Linked DNA regions of Homo sapiens: regions 2 and 3 are each linked to region 1. The links are contacts of gene promoters, found by promoter capture Hi-C in blood cells and fetal thymus (Javierre and others, 2016). All regions are on one chromosome and are shown on one strand. Each heading gives the region's core, a stretch centred on a gene start or on the middle of the fragment in contact. The rest is flanking DNA. Distances are from core to core; before and after follow the strand shown. Region 1 holds the start of PARD3B (par-3 family cell polarity regulator beta). Region 2 overlaps NRP2 (neuropilin 2). Region 3 has its middle 19 kb from the start of NRP2.

What was found. Contacts are between HindIII fragments. The CHiCAGO score rates a contact against its expected background, and 5 or more counts as called.
Region 2: a fragment that was not itself captured here is called in contact with the fragment with the promoter of PARD3B in region 1 in 2 of 17 cell types (non-activated CD4 T cells and total CD4 T cells); the score reaches 6.9 in non-activated CD4 T cells.
Region 3: a fragment that was not itself captured here is called in contact with the fragment with the promoter of PARD3B in region 1 in 1 of 17 cell types (total CD4 T cells); the score reaches 5.0 in total CD4 T cells.

The regions. Positions count from the first base shown.
Region 1 is chr2:204,543,439-204,548,152 of GRCh38, forward strand. It overlaps PARD3B (par-3 family cell polarity regulator beta), which reads left to right and starts at 2,037. Exons shown (of 23, transcript NM_001302769.2): 1 at 2,037-2,681. The coding sequence starts at 2,562. RefSeq lists a silencer at 2,024-2,073. The HindIII fragment of the contact is 7,233 bases long and covers 1-4,345 here.
Region 2 is chr2:205,699,504-205,704,217 of GRCh38, forward strand. The region is part of intron 2 of NRP2 (neuropilin 2); the gene reads left to right. Among named protein-coding and RNA genes, the nearest start is that of NRP2, 19 kb to the left of the region's middle. RefSeq lists an enhancer at 1,076-1,245. The HindIII fragment of the contact is 383 bases long and covers 2,430-2,812 here.
Region 3 is chr2:205,660,687-205,665,400 of GRCh38, forward strand. No RefSeq gene overlaps it. Among named protein-coding and RNA genes, the nearest start is that of NRP2, 19 kb to the right of the region's middle. The HindIII fragment of the contact is 1,647 bases long and covers 1,461-3,107 here.

The DNA of each region.
Region 1 (4,714 bases), core at 787-3,286:
CACTGTTCACATCCTTGTCTAGAGTCATCTCTTCCTTCATCTCACAATGGCATGGCCTCTGCTGCATCCCCTAGGTCCCGATTCCAACTTCCCAAGTGGAACTGGGAGAGCCGGAGTGTTCTTTATGGTTCACTTGGGGATTATCAAAGCCAGGACTTGGGGTGGGAGGTTCTAGATATTGGGAAGGAGCTAAAGCTGGGCTAAGAGGGAATTTGTGGCGAAGAGGAGGAGCTATTCATGACCCAAGCAGAAGAAAATGAGTCTGGAGCAACTGTAAAGCAAAAAGCCACGATGCAGGAAGGATGGCAACATGCAAAGTTATTTCATCAGTGGAAAATCTTTGCTCTGTACCATTCTATAGGTCCATGAAATACCGAATATTAAAAGTGAGGGCCACACATTAATGCACGGCATCAGTATCTATTTGTTTGTTTGATTCACTCATTGGTACTTCTCATGTAAGAAACAGCACAGCAGTTACGATGAAGACTCTGGAATCAGATGACCTGGGTTTTAAGCCAGCCTCTGCTACTTTCTAAGAATGAGATTTTAACTAAATCATTTAACTTCCTTTGGCCTCAGCTCCTCATCTCTAAAAAGAGGATAAAGTGTCTCCTTTGAAGAGAGCTGGCCTGAGAATGGAGACCACACTGAGGAACAGATAGAGCTAAGAGCTGGACAGAGCTAGCTGGCCCCTGAGGACATAGTTTGAGTTCCTGCTTTCAACCTTGCCTCAATGGAGTGCCCTCTGGATCTTCTGATTTTATGAGGTGATCAATTCTGTCTTTGGTTTATTTAAATGTAAATTAGTTTGTATTGGATTTACAACCAAATTACAATGGACTTGGTTTACGTGATCCTCTTGGTTTGCCACTGACTTTCTATACATAGAAGACAACCAATATATACTTACTGAATGTATGAATGAGCTAAAATTTATTTTTTTAAAAAACCTCTTGAAACCCATGAATTTAATCTCCTCTGCATTATCATACCATCCTAGGCAATTCACGTTCAATTTAAGTGTGTCCACATAGGAGCACATCCTTCTGTAGAGAAACACATGATGCAGCCCTGAGGGTCTTGCTGGATGAACTGGATGGCTAAGAAAACTGCAGGGAGAGACCAGAGATTGAGCTCAGAAGACCTGAGTTCTTTTCAACAGAACTAACACCATGGTCTGCTCAGTCTCTTGACCTCTCCGAGCACCATTCTTGATGCACAAGATGCGAAGAATAATATCTACCTACCGGGTAGTTGTTAAGCTCAAAGGAGCTCATTTACATGAGAGCTAAGAATGAAACTAACGTAATTTGTTGGTTTCCCCCACATATTCCCATTTCAATTGGTGATGGATACACACCTGCCAAATCATGAGCCTAAGGGTGTTAACTTTTTTTTTTCCTAATAAAATGCACAACGGTAGTCGCATTCCAGAAGGCTATGTGTCAACACACGCGATCATATCTGGGTCTTGGGTGTGACCTTTGGCCAAATACTCAGTGTCCTCGAGGGTCTGTAAAAGGAAAAGTTTCCACTGGCGCGTTCTCTCCAAGGTTCGCTTCAGCTCTGCTATCCCAGGGCTCCTGATGGCAGCGGCACGGGCTGTGCTTAAGGCGAGTTCCTAACAGGCCCTCGGGGCACTCCTGCATCTCCGCACCCGGCAGCCTCGCCCCTTGGGTGTTTTTGGTGGGCGTGACTAGAAGCACCTGCTCCTGGGCTCCTTTTGCATCTTGCTGCAGTCCCCTCCTGTGAAGGGCGCAGCTCTGCAGTCTCCTCGCTCTTCCCTCGGGTGTTCTTTCTGAGATCCGGTTTCAATCCTCGAGCGTGTAGCCCTCAGGTCCCCTTACAACTCCCCAGAGCTCCGTGTGCATGCGTGCGAGAGGGAGAGAGCCAGGGAGAGACCCAGGTGACGAGACGAGGCTCCCGGGCTCCAGTTACTGGCCCGCAGGGCCGGGGCACGTCGTCGCCCAGCGTGCGGCGGGGCCCGGGAGCGCCGCGGCCCCTTTAAGAGCCGGGCCCAGGCCGTCGCCGGGACCGCAGGAGCCCAGAGCGCGGGCGCCGCAGAGGAGTTGGGAGCCGGCGCAAAAGTTTCCTCCCAACTCTGGCCCCGTGCGCCGCCGCCGCCGCCGCCCACTCCAGCCCCCGGCTTGGGGCCGGCCCTGCCAACGCCGCCAGGGCCAGGGCCAGGGCCAGGACCAGCGACAGGGCAGGGCCGGCAGTTTCGCTTTGGTGGGCGCGGAGCAGCCGCCTGGGCCGGGCAGGAGTAGGAGCGGGAGGAGGAGGAGGAGGAGCCGGTGCCGCGGAGCTGCCGCGTCCCGGGCCGCCGGGCACCTGGGAGGTAACCCCTTTCCGCGGCCGCCCCTCCCCGATTCCCGCCACCTGCCGCCTGGCCAGGTGGAAGGGGCGCTGCCGCGAGCCTCCGGGCCTCAGGGTGTTCCGGGGAGCGGCGCCCCGGGTCTCTGGGCCCACCCGCCCCGGGCGTCCTCCGAGAGTGGGGGCTGCGCCCGCGGGGTCAGACACCTGTTCGGCCCGGCCCGGCGTGGTCGCCGGGGGCCAGGATGAAAGTGACCGTGTGCTTCGGCAGGACGGGCATCGTGGTGCCCTGCAAGGAGGGCCAGCTGCGCGTCGGCGAGCTCACCCAGCAGGCGCTGCAGCGGTACCTGAAGACCCGGGAGAAGGTGAGCGCGGCGCGGAGGAGTGGGGCGCGGCTGCAGCCAAGGCACCTGCCAGGTGCGACCCGGTGGCGACACTCAGGGGATGCAGAAAACCCAGGGGATTATGGGGCACTGCCTGTAGCTGCAGCTGTTGTCTATTGCTAATATCAGTGATGTGGGTGTCTTTGGGTGTTTGTGGGCCTTGAGCTCCGAGGGTCGTGAGTGGACCTGCAGCATTGGAATCTCTTGGGAGCTTCTTAGAACTGCCCAATATGGGCAGTTCTCCAAACCCACCGACTCAGGATCTGCTCTTTAACGAGATCCCCAGGTGATTGGAATGCCCACTGAAGTTTGAGAACCACTGGTTTAGAACTTGTTTGAGGGAACGTCTTAAAAGGTGCTGCTCACCTAAGTGTGATTTTTGACCCATTAAGGCCCGCCTCACTTAGGCTCCTTGGAGTTAGAAAGTTGATTGTGCAAGTGACACATACTCGGAAGTTACAACTGATGGGGCCTTTGGAGTTTCAGCCTTGTGAGCTGCCCTGTCTCAGTGACTTGGGCAGGAACACAGGTGGGAGCATGCTGTTTGCTTAGCCAACCTGTCTACATTTTGAGTGTTTTCAGTTTAATGTCACAGATTCTATGACCATTTACTATGTGTGTGGGCTGTTGTCAGGTCCTGAGTGACTATTAAAATGAGAAAGACGTTCCTAGCTCTGTAGCTGAAGTCAGGAACAAGTATAAATTAAGTGACAATTTTTTTTAAGTGTGCAATACATGTTGAGAAAATATCTGGCACTAGAACTTATGCCAAGTATTTGGGTAACATTGGGCCTCTGGGACTTCCTCAGTGAAACTTTTAAAGGAAGGCATTGAATAACCTTTTAATTTTTTGAATCTTCACATGGAACATTTTGTATGTCCCAAATGCTCCTCAAACAGGGCAAGTCACAAATTCTTGTTTTAGCGGCCAATGGTTCTCTTAATATTTGGTCTCGTGCCATGTGACTAAAATAGTGGGTTGGTCAATCTAGTGATGGAAAAACGTAAGTTTTAATTTCTTTTAACTTCTTATCGGTTATCCAAAGCATAAAAGTAATTGTTTCTTACAAGTGTATAGCTTAGGGGTTTAAGAAAATACTTGCACCTTCTTTGCCTCCATGAAGAATTATTATACAGAAAAAAAATTCAGCTCTGGACAGATACATGTGCATATTGCTTTGGATACTCAAGAACTGGAGGAGAGTACAATGAAAGGTCTATTAATATATTAAATATAACCCCTAAAGATGAACTCTTTACTGATGGAATTGAGGTGGAGGAGGGAAAAAATTAAAGTGGTTTATAAAGCTGTGTGAAAATCAACTGCAATGTTATGTGTGTGTGTGCACGTGCATATGTGTTTGCCATTGTTAAAATAGTGTTTGCTGTTTAAATCATGTAATTCAGTTAACTGATGTTTAAACAAGTAACCAATTGTCTATTAAATCATATTTCACTAACTTTTGAAAGTGAGCTAAGATTAATAGTAACAACATTACTCCAGACAGATTATTGAAATAGATCTCATTGAGGGATTGTCTTACCAAATTGAAGTTACTTTTTAACTATTAAATAATTTATGCCCTCAAATCTTGTATATTTAGAAGTTTAGTACAGGGGGCTATCCAAGTAAGAGATAAACTACAAGCTTGTAAATAACATGAAGAGAACTAACCAGCTGATATTTAATTCACTATAATTTGATCTTAAAAGGTGTTAAAATATTGACATTCTGGAATGGAAACGTAACTTATAATATCACAGAACAATGTAGTTGCATTGATCAGTTTACTATTATTACCAGACTTATATTTTTCTGTTTACATTTATATATTAGTGAATGTGACATTTAAAGGTCACCTGCAGCATATAAATCCTTCCTCTTATTTTCACTTTTAAAATTTCATTTTAAGAAGTAGTAGGTGATGATTTTTCCCCTCCCCAAGTATTCTTCTCCCATAGTTTTATTTTAAATAATATTGTAATCATAACAAGATTTAACGAATATTAAATCG
Region 2 (4,714 bases), core at 1,371-3,870, 1.2 Mb after region 1:
GAAAGCATGGCTTTTGGAAGGAAAAACTTAGGAGCTAGTAAGCATGGCTTAAAACATGTTGGGAAGGACGAAAGGCCAGAAAGGCCCTGCTTTGGGTTGCAGGGTACCCCTTCCATGGACAGGACTCAGTCCCAGAGATGGGGAGAACTGAAGGTTGCCAGAGACTCTGACAAGGGGAAGAAGAAGGCATTGCCCCTTGCTGGAGGTGGAGTAGGGGAAGCCAGCAATTTACAGGGTTATCTTCTGGCTTATCATCCTCGCTAAATCACTTCCTGTTTTTCTCCCCATTCCATGACCTCATGTGTCTGGTTTGAACCTAAAAAGTGAAGGAGGTCAGAAAAAAATCTTTCTGGGGTCTGTTTCTCCCAGTGCCAAACTGTCAGAGAGGCTCTGTTGGGATTAAGCCTCATCCACTTAACCTTGTCATTAATTCTCTGTTCCTCCCCCCATTTCTCCCCCACTCCCCATTTCTCTCTCTTTCTCTCTCTCATTAATTTTTGTATTTAGAAAGACTCATCTGGTTTTCTCAGCCTCTCACTCTTCAAGGTATTTTTGACATTTCCCCTGGCCATTTGCATTTGCCATAAATGGGCTTCCCCTCCCCACTGCCTTGTTTTACTTTCTTGTGAAAGGAACAATTAATCTAATTGAAGTCCTGGAAGTTCTGTCTTGTTCCGGCTCTCCCTCTCTCTTCCATACTGCATTTTCGTTCCAAGGGAGCTCCTGGGTTTGGAAAGCACTCACTCTCCAAGGAAATTAGCCTGCTTTCTCCTTTTATTTTGGGTGCATGCTTCAAATTGGATTTGGCTCTGCAGGCCCATAAGGTGGATACTTCCCAAAAGAAAACTGCCTGGGCTGGTCTTCCGATCACAGAGCACAGCAGCAATGCCCCAGCAAAAAGGGGAACTGAGCAAGAAAGTCAGGAGAAGCAGCCAACTCAGCTGTGGAGACAGAGCAGTGGTCAGCACACCCAACCTCGTGTTTGCCCGGGTTCTTCCTACGTGCAGGGTTAACTGCAAAGATTGCCCCAAAGCCTGGAAACAGGGCCCTGATATGAAAGAATTTATCCTGGGCTGTGGCCCCTGGGCCCTTGGCTCCCTGTATACCTTGAACTCTACATCCCAAAGGTTGAGACGGTTGCTGAGTAAACCCCAGATAGACCTTTTCCCCTAACCGTTGCTTATTAACTTTGTTCCATTGAAGCTTGCTGTCTGCTTGGAAAATTTCACTCACAAGCCGCAGCTTTGCCTGACTCAGTGCAATCCAAGGCCACCATCTCTGGTGAACTTCCCTTGACTCCTCCCTCCAGCCACTTGCAGAAATGCAAATCCTGGGCACCCACAGGCTGTTTGGGGGCCTGTATAGAAGCTGTGGGCAGAAACCAGAGGCCACTGTGGTACTGCTGGACTCCTGCAGCCAAAGGACAAAAGGGCGAGACTACGGGCCGTCTGGGCAAACAGAGAGAAGCCACTTTATTCCCTGTGGAGTGGAGGATGCTAGGATGTTGCTGCTCCGGCAGACAGAGGCCTTTCGCTTGAGTCATCAGCCAACAGACTGAATGTTATGGTTTTAGAAACCCATACACAAAGTTGAGTGGTTTTTTCCATTTCTAAAATTTAAAATGTATGTATTTTTAAAACACCCACCTGCATGTAATACACAGCTTGTTCAGGAGTTCTCAAACAGCCCCAGCACCCACCCCATCCCAGAGGCTCAACCAAATAAAACCAAAACCAGGAGGCTGGGTCCTTTTAAGCACTGGTAATTTCTACCTGTAATTCCAGCCCTTTGGGAGGCCGAGGCAGGCAGGTCACCTGAGGTCAGGAGTTCGAGACCAGCCTGGTCAACATGGTGAAACCCCGTCTCTACTAAAAATACAAAAAAAATTAGCCAAGCTTGGTGGTGCGTGCCTGTAATCTCAGCTACTCTGGAGGCTGAGGCAGGAGAATCACTTGAACCTGGGAGGCAGAGGCTGCAGTGAGCTGAGATTGTGCCACTGCACTCCGGCCTGGGTGAAAGAGTGAGACTCTGTCTCAAAAAAAAAAAAAAAAGAATTGGTAATTTCTAGATGGGTACCTTGATGGGTCTCAGAAAGAGCAAAACCCACTAGCAAGAAATGAAAGAACATTTCTTAGGCTAAAATCCTCAAGGAAGTCTACATAAATGATTGTATGTGCTATGTTCAGCCCAGCAATATCTCATATACCACGTATCATTGAAGAATGACATTCCATTTAGGTGAAGTGTCCAGATACTGAAATATCCACCTTTAAAGTTCTTAAAAGAGAACTTTAAAGAGTTCCAAGAGTTCTTTTTTAAAGGATTTCTGATAAAGAACATTCTAAATCATGTGCTGCACTTCCCTGTCTTTTTAAAACCTACATTGAGAGGAGTCAACTTTTTCTCAATGATTCAGGCTTTTAATTCTAAGCTTCACTTTTGTGACAGCAGCCAGTATTGCCATAATTGGAACAGGCAGATTAAGATTTGAATTTTTATTGACCTTTTAAACTTCCCAGGCCTCAGTTTCCTCATCTGCAAAGCTGTCATAATAATAAATATCTTGCAAGATTGCTCTGCCTTTTTATGTAGATGCCCAATAAGTTAGCAACTGTGTTAGCATCATTGGACTTTGTCAGGGGACAGTTTGGGACTATTTTCTATCAATCCTCCTGCTTTCACACATCCTGTTACGAGTATGCCTGTCTCCTGTAGCCTTCCCATTCTGACTTGTTTTTGCTTTTTTATGGGGTTATCAATTTTGCTTCAGGAGCCCTTGCTGTCTCTTGGGAAGTTTGAGTTCTGGGACCTAAGCTTTGCTCAAGCCAGTGCAATCCCAAGGCCAGCATTTCCAGTTGGCTTCAGCCAGCCAAGCTTGCAGCAGAGTTAGGACTGGGGAGTGATCCCCAAGTGACAAAGCGTAAGAGCAACAGAGGATGGAGTTCTCAACATCAGTGTAGCTGCTCACAATCTTTTTTTCTGAACTCCCCCACACCGTTATATTCTGCATATTTAAGGTTTTGGATATTTGCCTCTAAGTGTCCTAGATAAACAAGGTGCTCTTGTGTTTATTTACAGCCAGAGGGGCCCTCTATATCTTAGAAGATATGTCTGTTTCTCCCAAAGTAAGAGATGATATCTTAGAAAGGTAGCAGTTTCCCAGTTGATAACCTGATCATAGTAAACAGAGAGATCAGACCAGACCTTAGTCATCTGGCCCCTCCCCATTCAGCCAGCAGTGTTTCCCTGTGCTCAGTAAACACCCTCGATTCCCTGCAAACAACCAAGCATAGTCTTGCATCTGCATGAGCCCCCTGAGTTCCCAGGGCTCCAGCCCTCCTTTCCCTCCCTCCACAGTGTCCAGCTGCAAGCTCCCATCTTCCTCCCCTGAGTTTCCTTGCTTCCTGCAGTTCCCTTTTATCACCCTTTCCTCTGAACTCCCAGAGCACTTGATGTTGCCTGAGTCCCTTGCTTTTTGTTCATATGTGGTCATCTTGAGTTCTCAGCAAGTAAATTCTACAAGGGCACAAAGCATGTACTTCATATCTAAACTCCCATGGCGCCTAGTCTAGGAGGGTGCTAGGCAGGTGTGTGCAGGTGATTTCGTGATATTTTTTACATTGGAAATGCCAGGCAATAGGTCAGCATGAGCTGAATCTGTGTTGGAAGGCAGACAGATCTGTGTTCCCTATTTGTCCCTCTGGGAATATGACATAATCTTAGGGGGTAGGACACAGGCCAAGAATGTCACTAACTGATTTGGGACATGAGTCTCTCACCAACAAAATGGTAATAGACCATTCATTCATTCATCAGGAAATAGCTATTAAACACCTACTATGTGCTAAGCACGTTGGTATTATTGGGAATACAGTGATGAATAAATCATATTCTTTTCCCTAAAGTCACTGTTACTCTTTCCATTTTACAGATGAAGAAACTTGGGCTCAAAGAAGTTAAGCAACTGGCCCAAGGTTCTACTCCCATAAGTGGCAGAGAAGGGTTTTGAAGCCAGATACCCTAGTTTTCAATCTCTGCTTTACTCTTGTGCTGTCTGCCTCCCCGGCATCATGCATTTGGCAGGGGACATGATATGGACCTGTTACGTGGGCCCACAGCATCCAGGTCCAGCCTAAGCTGGGAAGATCAAGGAAGGCTCCCTGGAGGAGGTGACGCCTATACGAATTCTAAAGAATTTGGCCAGGCAGCAGGGAGTGTGTTTGGCTGGTGTCATAGGCAGACAGCAGCATGCCCAAAGACAAGAAGGAGGGAGGGTTTGATGCCTTCAGGAACCAAAATAATTGAACATGCCTGAACCCAATTTCTTAACCAGTGAGCATTGTAAGGGTAGACTAAAAGGGGCTGTCCTTGTGACTTGCTGACACAAACCCTTTTCCCGGTGAAGAGGTGCCTGAGCAATACTATTTAATTGTATTTCCTGGCCAGACAACTTCCACCATCTCCTTAGGAGACAGGGTGGTCAGGAAGCAGGAAAGACTAAGATGATGGGGACTCTCTGCTGTCCCCACCTTCCCTGTCCATTGTAGGGTCTCTGCAGCCTCATACCCTATGTCCAGCGACCTCCCCCACCCCGCCGCCAGTGGAATGCCTGAAAGTGGGGTTTGGCCTGGGAAAGTCCAGGTAACACTTCAGATTAAGCTCCTCTTGTCAATTTCCTGCTACACAAGACTTTCTGAATCCAAGTCTCTTTCCT
Region 3 (4,714 bases), core at 1,034-3,533, 1.1 Mb after region 1:
CGAGTCACCCACATAGTATAAAACTGATTTAATTTACTACCAAACGCCTTCATTTTGCCATTACGTAATCATAAATGTGCCCCCAAAGAGGCAGTGTTAGAACATAAGCCAGGGCAAAGAGCCAACCAGACATGAGATCTAGTCCTAGTTATACAACCTCATTCATGTTCCTACAAATCCTCAGTGGCCTTTCAGATCTGTGGCAGGACATACCTTGACACCACTCTGGTCTGTTGACTTGTCTTTCATTTACCTACCTGGTGAGCTGTGCGGTTTAGCAGCTAGATTCCTGGGCATGCTGGAGAGATACTGGAGAACTGACACTGGTGCCTTGAGATGTCGTGGCAACTGTCAGCTCCACCCGCCCCCACATCCTGTCTACTCTCTAGTGAAATTGCTGCTCTAAAAAAAGACCTCAGAGCAGCTTGAGAAGGGCCTGGAGAGGACGGCCCTCCTCACATTTCCCCCCAAGGTCTTGCTGTTAAATCTCCCACAAGCTCTAAGAGCAAATTGTCAGTGATCCACTTACCCAGCCCTAAACACCTCAGCCACGTCTACCCAGATGAAGGAAATTGCTTTCAGGGATAGATGCATCTCAAGAAAGTTGGCTATAAAATGGATTTTTATAAAGAGAATTCCATTTTCTCCTGGCTTCCATTACAAAATTGGAAAATTTGTCACACTGGAGGAAAGAATCCTCTCAGGAGACAAAAATGAACATTTGGGATGAGAAATTAATGTAAAGCCATAGCAATGACACGTCTCTCATTGGAACGCACCAGTGCCTGCTGGGAACCACCTCATGGTTCACTTTCCCTTTGAATCATTTCCAGTGTTTTGTGGAAGCGTTGGAACTCATGAACCTAATACACACTGTCAGTCCTTTCCCTCCGCCACCCAAGACTTAGAATTTTCTCCATGAGCAAAGGTTCTATTTCCATGTTCTTGCACCTCACAAAACTTGCTACTGCTCACTCGTATTAGTTTGAATATGGCTTTAGGCTGCAACATAACATTTTATTCTTTCATTCACTTATTTATACCCCACTTTATTCCTATAAATGATTTGATGTGGCTTAAAGGAATAAACGAGATAAGATGGTGTATTTGCATTTCAGATTCAATTCTACTTGTTTCATCTTTACTTGCATTTCAGATTCAATTCTACTTGTTTCATCTTTACTTGCATTTCAGATTTAATTCTACTTGTTTGCCCTAATTAAGTCAATTTTGACATTTTAATGTCATGAGCCGTAGCATTAAATAATAAATATTAATCTATTGGAGCTGAAAGAGTCTGATAGGTCATCTGGGCTACCTCCCACCCAGTACAGCTTCCACCATAGCCTGTCCAGTGAAATGCAGTGGTCTTTCTACCTTGGCTCTATAACAGATCATAAGAAACTGCACAAAACTTTTCTCATCATGTGGCTCATGAGACACCCTAGTTTAAGATCTGAAGCTTGGTGAGTTTCCCAGTAGGTGAAGAAGAAAAGTTCTATTCCATCTGGAAAGACTCTGTCACCAGTTACCCAGATAATTTCCCACTACCAGGGCATAAAGAGAGTTTATTCTCTCAGTAGCAATACCTGGGGCATTTCTAGCTTTTTCTCCTTTTTAAGGTTCCTGGAAAAGCAGAAGCCTTTGCTCTCTGAACCCTGGCTTTATGCCACCTCCTCACTTCTAGATGAAAACTGCTCATTTCATTGTCAGCCACACTTGATTCAGTGGAATTTCCCAAACTTTGTCCACAGAATCTTCCTGCCTCAAACTTCCCATTTGGGGGTCTGTTCCCTGGGTTATTTCTGCTTTAAAGACTGTATAATTGTGAATAAGACACTAGGTCCTTCTCTTACATCCACAAGGGGTTATTCTGGCTTTCCCCTGGGAGCGTTGGGAGGATGTGGGCAGAGACATTGAGCTGACAGCTTAGCTGCCCAGCTGAGTGCCAGAGACTTCTGATCTCTCTCTCTCTCTACCTATTCTGTGTGGGTCAAGGGCACCTTCTTCTGCCAATGGCACACAATCCCTCAGAACTGTGAAAAGTGCCACCTGTCGCATTGTTCCAGCATCACAGGGAACATCCACATAATGCAAAGTTGGTGTGTCAGTCTGCATTCACTAGACTATGCTGCTGGAACCCCCAAACCTCAGTGACTTACAGCACAAAGGCACTGGGACTTATAGCATGGCCCGTCTGCAGCCCAACTTTCCCCCTCACAACTGCTGGGGATCCAGGCTGATAAGGATCCCTTGGCTGGTACATGCCATTGTCATGACAGAGGCAAAGAGCAGTGTCCAAACCTCATGATAGCTCTCCTAGTATCTGTTCACAGTGGCGTATGTCACTGTTACGTTCTAGTGGCCAAAGCACATCATATATGGCCCTGTCTGATGTCAAAGGGGTGGGGACGAACACTACAGCTTAGCGAAGGACAGATACTACTCTATCCAGCAAAGGAGAGATGTATAATCCTTTTGCAGTGAGTGAGGTGAATTGGGACCAATAAAGCAATCAACCTCAGTTGATGACATTATAGTTTGGGGAAGACTCCCATAGAGGAGCTAACTTGTTTACACCAATTATAACCTATCATAGAGTTTCACTGTCCAGATGTGGGGGGCATCAGCTCACTGCCGTTTCTTCCAGAAGCACTGAGTGTCCTCCATAGATTTTCCTGTCCCTTCGTCATGCCACCCCCTTCACTGTCTGCCTCACCATCCACACACACTCACATAGCACCTGGGTTCGCTTTTTTCTGCTCTCCCAAATTTCCTACCTCCCCTTCTTTTCCATGCTGTTATCCTTCCCAAAGCCTCCTCTAGTGCCTAGAGGTGTGATACACAGATGTCCTTGCCTGCTCCCATTTCCCTTGCTGGATGAGGTAAGGGGAGGCCTCAAGTCCTTATGGTGAGGGAAGGATGGCAAGACATAGCATGGTCTTGACTGCAGGAGGCAGCTTGCTTTCATTTGCTCTCGCTCTGAATTTCTTCAGTTATGATCACATATTTAACATAAATCAGACATCTCACACTAAAAGAGTTTACCTTCTGCCAATGGACTTCCCTGAGTTTACAGGTGAGACTCATATTCTCCCTGCTAGCAAAGCTTCTGTTCCTTCTTTTTTTTTTCTTTGAGATGGAGTTTCACTCTTGTTGCCCAAGCTGGAGTGCAATGGTGTGATCTCAGCTCACTGCAACCTCCGCCTCCCTGGTTCAAGTAATTCTCCTGCCTCGGCCTCCTGAGTAGCTGGGACTACAGGCATGCACCACCACCACACCCAGCTAATTGTTTGTATTTTTAGTAGAAACGGGGTTTTACCATGTTAGCCAAGCTGGTCTTGAACTCCTGACCTCAGGTGATCTGCCCGCCTTGGCCTCCCAAAGTGCTGGGATTACAGGTGTGAGCCACCACACCCAGATCTGTTCCTTCCTATGCTAAGATGTTATCTGTCTCTTTCACCACCTTTGGTTATGTATGCATTGCTTTCCTATTAACTTGTCTCTGGAAGACATGCCCAGTGGTTGCACTTTTAAGATTTATCTGTGTGTGTGTGTGTGTGTGTGTGTGTGTGTGTATGTGTGTGTTCCAGTTTTTGTTTATTTGTTTTGCCTGGACTGCAGTGGATAAGTAAATTCATTTCTGCCACTCAGTCATATGGGAGCCCTGCGCAGGGTATCATCCACATCTGTTGAACTGTCTCACCACCACCACCACCACCACCACCTTCCTCCTCTCTTCCAAAAGTGCCATTATTTCTTTATAACTCTCAGGACCATCCTCCTGCCCAGAAGATGCTCAGTACAGATGAGCATTTTCAATCTTATGTCCAAGTGTGCTTCTCCCGGCATTGCACTGTTCCTTATTGTTGGTGCACAATTTCATAATTCTGTTTAAGCCCCCATATAATGTAGAGAAATAGCTCAGGGTTGTTGCCACACAATGACACTTTGAGATCATCCCCAAAACAATGCTTCTATGCACCAGGACCTTCATGGTTCCCTTTACCAAACTGTCTTGTCTTTTTTTTTTTTTTTTTTTTAACTTTTATTTTAGGTTCAGGAGTACATGTGCAGGTTTGTTACATAGGTAAATTGTGTGCCACGGGGGTTTGGTGTACAGATTATTTTGCCACCCAAGTAATAAGCATAGTACTTGATACGTAGTTTTTTTTTATCCTCTTTCTCTTCCCTCCCTCCACCCTCAAGCAGGCCCCAGGGTACATCATTCCCTTCTTTGTGTACCTGTGTTTTCAATAGTTAGTTCCCACTGAAAAGTGAGAATATGTGGTATTTGGTTTTCTGTTCCTGCATTAATTCACTTAGGATAATGGCCTCCAGCTCCATCTATGTTGCTGCAGGGTACATGACCTCACTCTTTTTTATGGCTGTGTAGTATTCCATGGTGTATATGTACCAAATTTTCTTTATCCCAGCATGTAGGTTGATTCCACGTCTTTGCTATTGTGAACAGTGCAAACTTTCTCTTTTTTTTTTTTGAGATGGAGTTTCACTCTTGTTGCCCATGCTGGAGTGCAATGGTGTGACTTCGGCTCACCTCAACCTCTGCCTCCCGGGTTCAAGCAATTCTCTTGCTTCAGCCTCCCAAGTAGCTGGGATTACAGGCATGCGCCACCATGCCTGGCAATTTTTCTGTATTTTTCATACAGACGGTCTTTCTCCATGTTGATCAGGCTGATCTGGAACTCCTGAC